Regions from separate parts of the Homo sapiens genome. Here region 1 is linked to region 2. Evidence: promoter capture Hi-C in human tissues and cell types (Jung and others, 2019). All regions are on one chromosome and are shown on one strand. Each heading gives the region's core, a stretch centred on a gene start or on the middle of the fragment in contact. The rest is flanking DNA. Distances are from core to core; before and after follow the strand shown.

The links. The method cuts DNA at HindIII sites, captures the fragments that hold promoters and counts their contacts. A contact is called where the count stands out against the background at its distance.
Region 1: a contact is called between a fragment that was not itself captured here and the fragment with the promoter of CYP4F2 in region 2, in 2 of the 25 tissues and cell types used here (bladder and dorsolateral prefrontal cortex).

The regions. Positions count from the first base shown.
Region 1 is chr19:15,830,737-15,835,547 of GRCh38, reverse strand. It overlaps LOC124900418 (collagen alpha-1(I) chain-like), which reads right to left. Exons shown (of 3, transcript XM_047439793.1): 2 at 4,192-4,293; 3 at 1-330. It overlaps UCA1 (urothelial cancer associated 1), which reads right to left. Exons shown (of 3, transcript NR_015379.3): 2 at 4,192-4,293; 3 at 1-1,046. Among named protein-coding and RNA genes, the nearest start is that of UCA1, 4.2 kb to the right of the region's middle. RefSeq lists an enhancer at 1-610. The HindIII fragment of the contact is 5,632 bases long and covers 1-4,784 here.
Region 2 is chr19:15,895,700-15,900,617 of GRCh38, reverse strand. It overlaps CYP4F2 (cytochrome P450 family 4 subfamily F member 2), which reads left to right and starts at 2,544. Exons shown (of 13, transcript NM_001082.5): 1 at 2,544-2,592; 2 at 3,006-3,204. The coding sequence starts at 3,007. The HindIII fragment of the contact is 5,329 bases long and covers 1-4,918 here.

The sequences.
Region 1 (4,811 bases), core at 719-3,218, 64 kb after region 2:
GAAAATTTTATAATGAGTCTAGTAAGTTTCGGGTCTAGGGTGCATTTTTATGTAGCTAACAAGGTGCCAGTTAGCGTATTTTTGAGCTTGGAACTGCCCTAATAAAATAAGTTCTCTAAAAACAGTAATCAGGCATATTAGCTTTAATGTAGGTGGCGATGAGTTTTTAGGCCAAGGAAGGAATAATGTTTTATGTACCAAAGCCTTTTGTCCCCATTTTCCATCATACGAATAGTATTCCCTGTTGCTAAGCCGATGATACATTACCCTTTTCCCATAGGTGTGAGTGGCGGTCTGAATGGAGAAGTTCAATAGTTCTGATTGCAGATCCTATGCAGAAGAGATAATAAGGAAAATAATCTTTGTCTCCTGGATTAAGCTGAGGCTGGCAAAGAGTGAAATGTCCCAAGCCCTCTAACAACAAACAACATACTTTGTGTTGTCCTGGATGCTGGTCTGGTTGCCAAATATGTGGAACTGGCCCCATATGCGTGTACTGTTGTCCATTTCATGAGAGTAGGCTTGAGGACACCATGGGCAAGGATCTGATGGTTGCCAGCCTAAGCGTTTTAGACTTTTGACCCAGAGATTTTTTGTTTTGGGTGTGGAAAAAATTTTAGAGGATAGGGTCTCAAGATATAATCCTTTTTATAGGCGGCAGGTCTTAAGAGATGAGGGTCCAGAGGAACGGATGAAGCCTGCTTGGAAGCATGCTGGGATGGCCATTTGGAAGGAGTGTTGCAAGGAAGCATGGCCTTGGCTGGGCGCTGCCAGGAGCTTAAGGGTTGTAGGTTGTTTGTCTGATCGGCTCTCGGCCTAATCTTGTGGCTTCCAGGAGGAAGAGGAGAGATCAAGCTGGCTGTCTGATGGGCATGGCTTTATTCTGGAATGGTGAACCCAATGGAGAGGGTCCTGCAGATGGACGGCAGTTGGTGTGCTATAAATGACCGGGTAGGGTCTGGTCCATTGAGGCTGTAGAGTTTGAGGGGTCAGACTTTTGACAAGGACTGATCGTCCAGCTAGGGTGTCTTCATATGGCTGGGAATCTGGAGTAGGCAAGAGAAGATTAGCAGCTTGGCAAATTTCCTGTCTAGCCTGCTAGAGGACTGGAAGATAGTTGCCCAGGGGGCTGGTGTCTGGAACAAGATTGTGGCTGAGTAAGAAGGTGCATCCATATAAAATTGAAATGGGTTGTACCCTGTGGCTTCTCAAGGACAGGCCCTAATTCTGAGGAGGGCAAGTGGTAAAAGTACTGTCCAGTCCTTTTTAAGTTGGAGGCTGAGCTTGGTGAGGTGTGTTTTTAAAAGACCATTCATCCGTTCTACCTTTCCTGAAGATTGAGGACGGTAGGGGGTATGAAGTTTCCACTGAATACCAAGAGCCTGAGAAACTGTGGAAGTAGGGAGGCCAAATTGGGGGATTATATCTGTCAGAAGGGAAGAAATGACTGTAGTAGCCTTTCAGAGCTAGTGGGAAAGGCCTCGACCCATCCGGTGAAGGTATTGGCCCAAACCAGGAGATATTTAAATTTACAGACACGCGGCATATGAATAAAGTCAATTTGCCAATCTTGTGTCGGAGGAAATCCATGAGCCTGATGCGTAGGAAAAGGAGGAGGCCTGAGAAGACCTCGGGGGTTGGTGGCATGGCAGACAGAGCATTGAGAGGTGATGGTTTTAAGGATGGATTTCCATGATGGGATGGAAATGAGGGGCTGTAGGAGGCCAGCCAGAGGCTTATATCCTATATGGAAATGGTCATGAAGGGAAGAGAGAGTAGACTGGGCTTGTGAGGCAGGAAGAACGAATTTTCCATGATCTAAGAACCACTTGCCCTGAGTTGGAAAAGACTGGTAGAGCAGGTTTTTTAGAAGAGGAGTAGGTGGGGGTGATAGAGAAGAAAGAAAAGTACTAGCCTTTTGGGGTGAGGGCTAGAATATTTGCAGGCGTGGAGGCATTTGCTGTTTCTTTTGCTGTCCTGTTGGCGTAGGCATTTCCTTTAGCAATAAGATCAGTTGGTTTCTGGTGTCCTTTACAATGAATGAACCCAGCTTTGGCCAGCAAGAGAGCAGCATTAAGGAGGGCCTTTATTAGAGAGGTATTGATAATGGAAGAGCCTTGTGTGGTGAGAAAACCTCTTTCAGTCCAAAGGGTAGCATGGTTGTGGAGGATGTGGAAAGCATATTAGGAGTCAATATAAATTTTAATGTGCATTCCTTTGGCGACAGAGAGTGCACAAGTTAAAGCAATCAGTTTGGCTTGTTGGGAAGTAGTGGAGGGAGGAAGTGCAGCAGCCTCAATAATAGAGGTATGGGACACGACAGCATAACCAGCTTTAGCTGGCGAGATTTGACTGGGTTTAGAGGAACTGCCATGAATAAACCAAGTGTGGTCTGGATTTGGGATTGGAAAAATAGAAATATGAGGAAAGGGGGAAGATGCTATGTGTATTAGGGAGATACAATCATGTTGGCCAGGACTTGTGTTGGGTGCTAAGTGAGAAGCTGGGTTGAAATCGGGCCCATGGGCAGTAGTTATTGTTGGGGTTTCAATAAAGAGTGAATAGAGCTGGAGATGTCGAGGGGCAGACAGCAAGTGTGAAAGGTGTGAGGAGGATATTAATGCTTGAAGGTTGTGAGAACTGTAGAGGGTAAGTGGAGCATAGCCTGTGATTTTGAGAGACTCTGGAAGTGTTAAAGCGGCAGCTGCCACCACATGTAGACATGAGGGCCAGCCTAGAATTGTGAGGTCAAGTTGTTTGGATAGAAAGGCTATAGGTCGTGGGCCTGGCTCCTGTGTGAGAACTCCAGCAGCACAGCCTTGTGTTTCAGCTGTGTGTAAGGAAAAAGGTTGGGACAAGTCAGGGAGTGCTAGTGTGGGAGCTGTTTCTAGGGCCTTTTTGAGAGAATGAAAGGAAGCATGGGGAAAGGACTTATGGTCTATGGGATCAGCTAAATTACCTTTAGTGAGTTTGTAAAGCAGTTTGGTTAGAATGGCAAAACCTTGGTACCCAGAGTCGGAAGTATCCAACAACGCCTAAGAAGGAAAGGAGTTGTTGTTTGGTGGTGGGGAATAGGGTCTGGGAGATTAACTGAACACAGTCTGCAGGAAGAGTGCGTGTATGTTGATGGAGGACTATGTCGAGATATGTAACACTAGGGGAGGAAATATGAGCTTTAGAGGGGGATACTCAGTACCCCTTTGAGTAGAGATATTGAAGAAGTAGGATAGGATAGTGTCCTGCTGGGAAGATTGGTAAGAAGGGCTGCAAAGAAGAAGGTCTTCAACATATTGAATAAGGTGGGAGGCAGATGGGCAGAAAGAAAGTCATGAGAGAGGGCCTGACCAAAGTAGTGTGGGCTGTCCCTGAAACTTTGGGGTCGGACAATCCAGGTGAATTGCTGGGACTGGTGGGTGTCAGGGTCAGTCCAAGTAAAGGTGAAAAGAGGTTGGGAGGAGGGATGCAAGGGGATGGTAAAGAAGGCATCTTTGAGGTGGATAACAGAATAATGAGTTGTGGAAGGGGGTGTCGAGGAGAGGAGAGTATAGGGTTTGGCACAACAGGATGGATGGGAAGGACAATCTGATTTATGAGGTGAAGGTCTTGAACTAGCCTCTAGGACTTGTCCGGTTTCTGGATGGGTAGGATAGGGGAGTTGTAAGGAGAATTTGTAGGCTTCAAAAGGCCACGTTGTAACAGGCAAGTGATAACAGGCTTCAGTTCCCTTTAAAGCCTGCTGCGGGCTGGGATACTGGTATTGAGCAGGGTAAGGGTGATTAGGTTTTAATGGAATGGTAAGGAGTGCATGGTCAGTTGCCAAAGAAAGAGTAGAAGTATCCTATACTTGAGGATTAAGGTGGGGAGATACAAGGGGAGGATGCGAAAGAGGCCTTGAATTGGGGAAAAGGACAGCAATGGGGTGTGGCTGTAGCCCAGCAATAGTCAGGGAAGCAGATAATGTGGTTAAAATATCTCAGCCTAATAAGGGAACTGGGCAGGTGGGGTTAACTAAAAAGGAGTGCATAAAAGAATGTTGTCCAAGTTGGCACCAGAGTTGGGGAGTTTTAAGGGGTTTAGAAGCTTGGCCGTCAATACCCACGGCAGTTACGGGGGCAAAGGAAACAGGCCCTTGAAAAGAAGGTAATGTGGGGTGGGTAGCCCCCGTATTGATTAAAAAGGGGATGGACTTACCCTCCACCGTAAGAGTTACCCGAAGCTCGGCATCTGTGATGGTCCAAGGGGCTTCTGAGGCGATCGGGCAGCATCAGTCTTCAGCCACTAAGCCGAGGAGATCTGGGAAGGAGTCAGCCAGAGAGCTTTGAGCCAGAGCTCCAGGGACCCTAGAAGGGGCTGTGATATTAGTTGGACAGTCCGATTTCCAGTGGGGTCCCGCACAGGTGGGACAGGCTTAGGAGGAATCCCGGGCTGCAGGCATTCCTTGGCCCAGTGGCCAGTTTTGCGGCACTTGAAGCAAGGTCCATGAGATGGTTTTAAAGGAGTGCCTAGAGGCTGTGGTTTGGTTGCTCTGAAGTTTTTGTGTGCTGAAGGCATGGCTGGGGTTTGTCTTACAGCAGAGGCAAGCAATTGCAGCTCTGAAAGACGTTGCTGCTTGGCTGCCTCTTCTCTATTGTTGAACACCTTGAAGGCGAGATTGATTAATTCCTGTTGTGGGGTTTGAGGGCCAGATTCCAATTTTTGAAGCTTTTTTTGTAATGTCAGGAGCTGACTGAGTGATAAAATGCATATTGAGAATAAGATGGCCTTCTGGCCCTTCAGGGTCTAGGGCTGTAAAGTTTCTAAGGGTAGCCACC
Region 2 (4,918 bases), core at 1,295-3,794:
GTGTCCGGAATTGGTGGGTTCTTGGTCTCACTGACTTCAAGAATGAAGCCGCGGACCCTCGCGGTGAGTGTTACAGCTCTTAAGGTGGCGCGTCTGGAGTTTGTTCTTTCTGATGTTCAGATGTGTTCGGAGTTTCTTCCTTCTGGTGGGTTCGTGGTCTCGCTGGCTCAGGAGTGAAGCTGCAGACTTTCGCGGTGAGTGTTACAGCTCATAAAAGCAGTGTGAACCTAAAGAGTGAGCAGCAGCAAGATTTATTGCAAAGAGTGAAAGAACAAAGCTTCCACAATGTGGAAGGGGGCCTGAGCGGGTTGCCACTGCTGGCTCGGGCAGCCTGCTTTTATTCTCTTATCTGGCCCTACCTATGTCCTGCTGATTGGTAGAGCCAAGTGGTCTGTTTTGACAGGGCGCTGATTGGTGCGTTCACAATCCTTGAGCTAGACACAAAGGTTCTCCACGTCCCCACCAGACTCAGAAGCCCAGCTGGCTTCACCCAGTGGATCCCGCACCGGGGCTGCAGGTGGAGCTGCCTGCCAGTCCCGCGCCGTGCGCTCGCACTCCTCAGCCCTTGGGTGGTCGATGGGACTGGGCGCCCTGGAGCAGGGGGCGGCGCTCATCGGGGAGGCTCGGGCTGCACAGGAACCTACGGAGGCCGGGGGCTCAGGCATGGCGGGCTGCAGGTCCTGGGCCCTGCCCCGCGGGAAGGCAGCTAAGGCCCGGCGAGAAATCGAGCGCAGCGCCGGTGGGCTGGCACTGCTGGGGGACCGAGTACACCTTCCCGAGCAGCCGCTGGCCCGGGTGCTAAGCCCCTCATTGCCCGGGGCTGGCAGGGCCGGCCGGCTGCTCCGAGTGCGGGGCCTGCCAAGCCTACGCCCACCTGGAACTCTAGCTGGCCCGCAAGTGCCGCGCGCAGCCCCGGTTCGTACTCGCGCCTCTCCCTCCATACCTCCCTGCAAGCTGAGGGAGCCGGCTCTGGCCTTGGCCAGCCTAGAAAGGGGCTCCTACACCTATAAGTGAGAATATGCGGTGTTTGGTTTTTTGTTCTTGCGATAGTTTACTGAGAATGATGATTTCCAATTTCATCCATGTCCCTACACAATGAGAACATATGGACACAGGAAGGGGAACATCACACTCTGGGGACTGTTGTGGGGTGGGGGGAGGGGGGAGGGATAGCATTGGGAGATATACCTAATGCTAGATGACGAGTTAGTGGGTGCAGCGCACCAGCATGGCACATGTATACATATGTAACTAACCTGCACATTGTGCGCATGTACCCTAAAACTTAAAGTATAATAATAATAATAAAAAAATCCAAAAAAAAAGAAAAGAAGAGAAAAGAAAGGGGCTCCCACAGTGCAGCGGTGGGCTGAAGGGCTCCTCAAGTGCCGCCAAAGTGGGAGCCCAGGCAGAGGAGGCGCCGAGAGCGAGTGAGGGCTGTGAGGACTGCCAGCATGCTGTCACCTCTCAGTGGGAGCAGGTGTGACAAGAGTTGGGCAAATCAGACCTTTAATCCACCCTGATAGGCTGGAGTGTGGGCTTATGGCATTTCTCCTTTGACCCAATTAACCTCCACTCCCAATGTATCTCTGTGCAGAAGGCTCAGCTAGGTGTATCAGCCATTGTAAATCCTCAACATAAATTATAATTTAACCTAGAATACAGAGACTAGGTAGCAGGAGGAGAGGAAATGTAGAGATACTAATCTCTTCTCCCTTATCAGAAAGAAACCTAGCATAAGAAATTTCACGCTTAATGGGCCAAAGAGTAAATCAGAAAACTCCATGGGTGATGGTATGCTCATGGTGGTGGTGGTGGTGATGGGGAATTATTTGCCCTCCTGTGACCTCCCTTGGATTAATTTCTCCCCAGGACAATGGGAAAAATCATTTAATCCTTGGAGTTTTTTTTTTTTTTTTTTTTTTTTTTTTTTTTTTTTTTGCTTGAGAGTGACTCTGATCCTGTTTCTGATGGTCATGTTCCTCAGCATCATACTGAGTAAGTCACTGGCCTTGTAGCATCTGGAGTGATTGGAGTGATCCAAGATCCCTAGTTCCCATGTCACAAATGAGGATCCCACATATCTGGGACAGAGATGGAACATTATTTCTGGGTGTGTCTATCTAATCTATTCATCCTATCTATCTAATTTCTCATCTATATATATATTTGCCTACCCATCCATCCATCAATCCATCTTAGCTGTACGTTTATCCATTCCATCTATTTATCCTATTATCTATGTATCTATCTATCATCTATTAATAGCTATCTATCCATCTGTCTAATATATCCATTATCTATATCTACTTTATCTATCTACCTAATGTATCCATCCTATCTACTCTATCTATCTGTGCATCTACCCATCCATCTGGACCCTGAGCTGATTCCTCTGCACCCAGCTGGCCTGACGCCAGGTGTTGATTGGCTGCCCAGGCTCAGGAGACACATCCAGGCTGCAGGGATTGGTTGGCCCAGCCCAACCCAGCCAGCCCTCCCACAGCCTTTGCTATATCAAGGGCCAGGGTCAAAGGCCTCCCAGCAGACAGAGAGAGGAGGTTGTCTGGGACAGACTGCTCCTGACAGAAGGTGCCAGGCTGGGGGTGGCAGGCCTGGGGGGGGTCCTGGCCTGGGATGGAGAGGGGCACTGCCCAAGGCCCACGCAGCTCCTGGGTGCTGGCCTGGAGGATGGGTGGTTTCCGAGTAACTGAAACCAAGCCCCTGGCAACCTCACAGTGATTCAGGCTGGGCCTTTCTGGACTTTAATCAGTCTCTCTCTCTCTTTCCCATTCTAAGTGCTTACTAGGGAACTGGAGGCCACTTGGCTGCTGGTTTTGGTTGGGCCTTTCTGGACTTTACCTCTCAGCCCCTTTTTACCCATCCCTGAGCCCTCCCTGCTCTACCTCCGGCACTGCCCGTCCCTGCCTCTCCACTGTCCCTGGAGGTCCCTGGGCCGTTCTCTGGGCCTCAGGATCTCACCGTCCATCCCGTCTGCCCTGCAGGATGTCCCAGCTGAGCCTGTCCTGGCTGGGCCTCTGGCCAGTGGCAGCATCCCCTTGGCTGCTCCTCCTGCTGGTCGGGGCCTCCTGGCTCCTGGCCCATGTCCTGGCCTGGACCTACGCCTTCTATGACAACTGCCGCCGCCTTCGGTGTTTCCCACAACCCCCAAGACGGAACTGGTTTTGGGGACACCAGGGCATGGTGAGTGTGGCAGCAGGATGGGTCTAGGTCTCAGGATGGATGGACTTCCTGAGGGGTACGAGGCTTAGGGAGTGGGGGTGAAGGGGTGGGCTGGGATCTGGGGTGGCAGAGAAGCAGAGGAGGCATCTTACTCATTCCTCTGCTTATTCATTTCTGTGAGGTGCCTACGCAAGCCCTTCTCACTTCCTTGTCCTCCCACTCCAGGCCTGCATTGAATCCTTTTCCTGCCTGTCTTCCCACATTAATGCACCTCTGCGGGGCTCCTGGGCAGAGGGTTGGCTGCACAGAGAGGCGAGTCCCTGGCATTCCCACATTCTCCATTGCTGGACTCGAGGCTTCTTATGCCCACTGTCCAGGGTCCTCTCCTTGCCTGGACTATTTCCTGTTATGAGGGTACAGCTGGGCCAGAGGAGAGGCATGGGCCGTCTCCCACTTCCACTACACCCGAAGGCACCTTTCTCTTATATTCTTCTTCTTATCTCCCTCTTATCAATGAGACCTGTTGCCAAACCCAGATAAAAGTTGGCCACTCACTTCACCTTTCAGAAGCTTTCCTTGGCCTTTCTCCTCCCCGTGACCTTGCCCTCTGACTTAGACCGCTCTCCTCTTTGGGGAATGTGGTCTTAGTCTGCTCATTTGCAAATGGCAGGATTGATGGATGTGTCCACAGATAAAGTGGAAGGGTGCACAGGACACACTAGCACAGAGCCTGCTGCAGAAGCTGCTCCCAGGTGGGAGCCATTGTCCTGATGGACAGTTAGAGTCACCTCTGCTCCACTAGTGGCTGCTGAAAAGGGAAGGTCTCCCATGTGCAGAACCTTCTCCATGGGAGGAACTGGAGCCTCTGTGGATCAGCCAGGACATGAAGGCATGTGGGGACCAGCCTTAGGGACATGTCCTGAGGCGATACTGCTCCCCACAAATCTCCCCTGTGAGGACCTCCCCATATAGCTGCCTCTGGGCTGAAATGACTCCCAGAAAAAGAAAATCCTTCCTCTCAAGATAACTGGGCCTCTGTGAGTGGACAGTGCGTCTTCTCCCTCTGCCCTGGGATGCACCCTTGGGACTTGGAGATGGACCCAAGAGAGATAGAGCAGGAGGAATGTGGATAGATAGATAGATAGAGCAGGAGGAATGTAGATAGATAGATAGATAGATAGATAGATAGATAGATAGATAGCTAATAGGATAGATAGATAGATGCACAGATAGGATGGATAGATGGATGGATGGATGGATGGACAGGCACGTAGGTAGATAGATAATAGAATAGATGGATGCATGGACACATGGATGCACAGATAGCATGGATGGATGGATGGATGGATGGATGGATGGATGGATAGATAGATAGACAAATAATAGGACATATGGATGCATGGACACACGGATGCACAGATAGGATGGATGGATGGATGGATGATGGATGGATGGGTAGATAGAGTAGATAGGATGGATAGATTATGTAGACAGATGGAGTAGATATATATGATGGATAGATTAGACGGATAGATGGCTATTAATAGATGATAAGCAGACAGACAGATGAATATATGGATGGATGAAAGCACAGATAAAATGGATTGATGGATAGATGGGTAGGCAGATAGATATATAGATAGAAAAATTAGATAGATAGGATGAATAGATTAGACACACCCAGAAATAATGTTTGACCAACTACCTGGGCATCCCTTAGCCCAGTCAAGTAGAC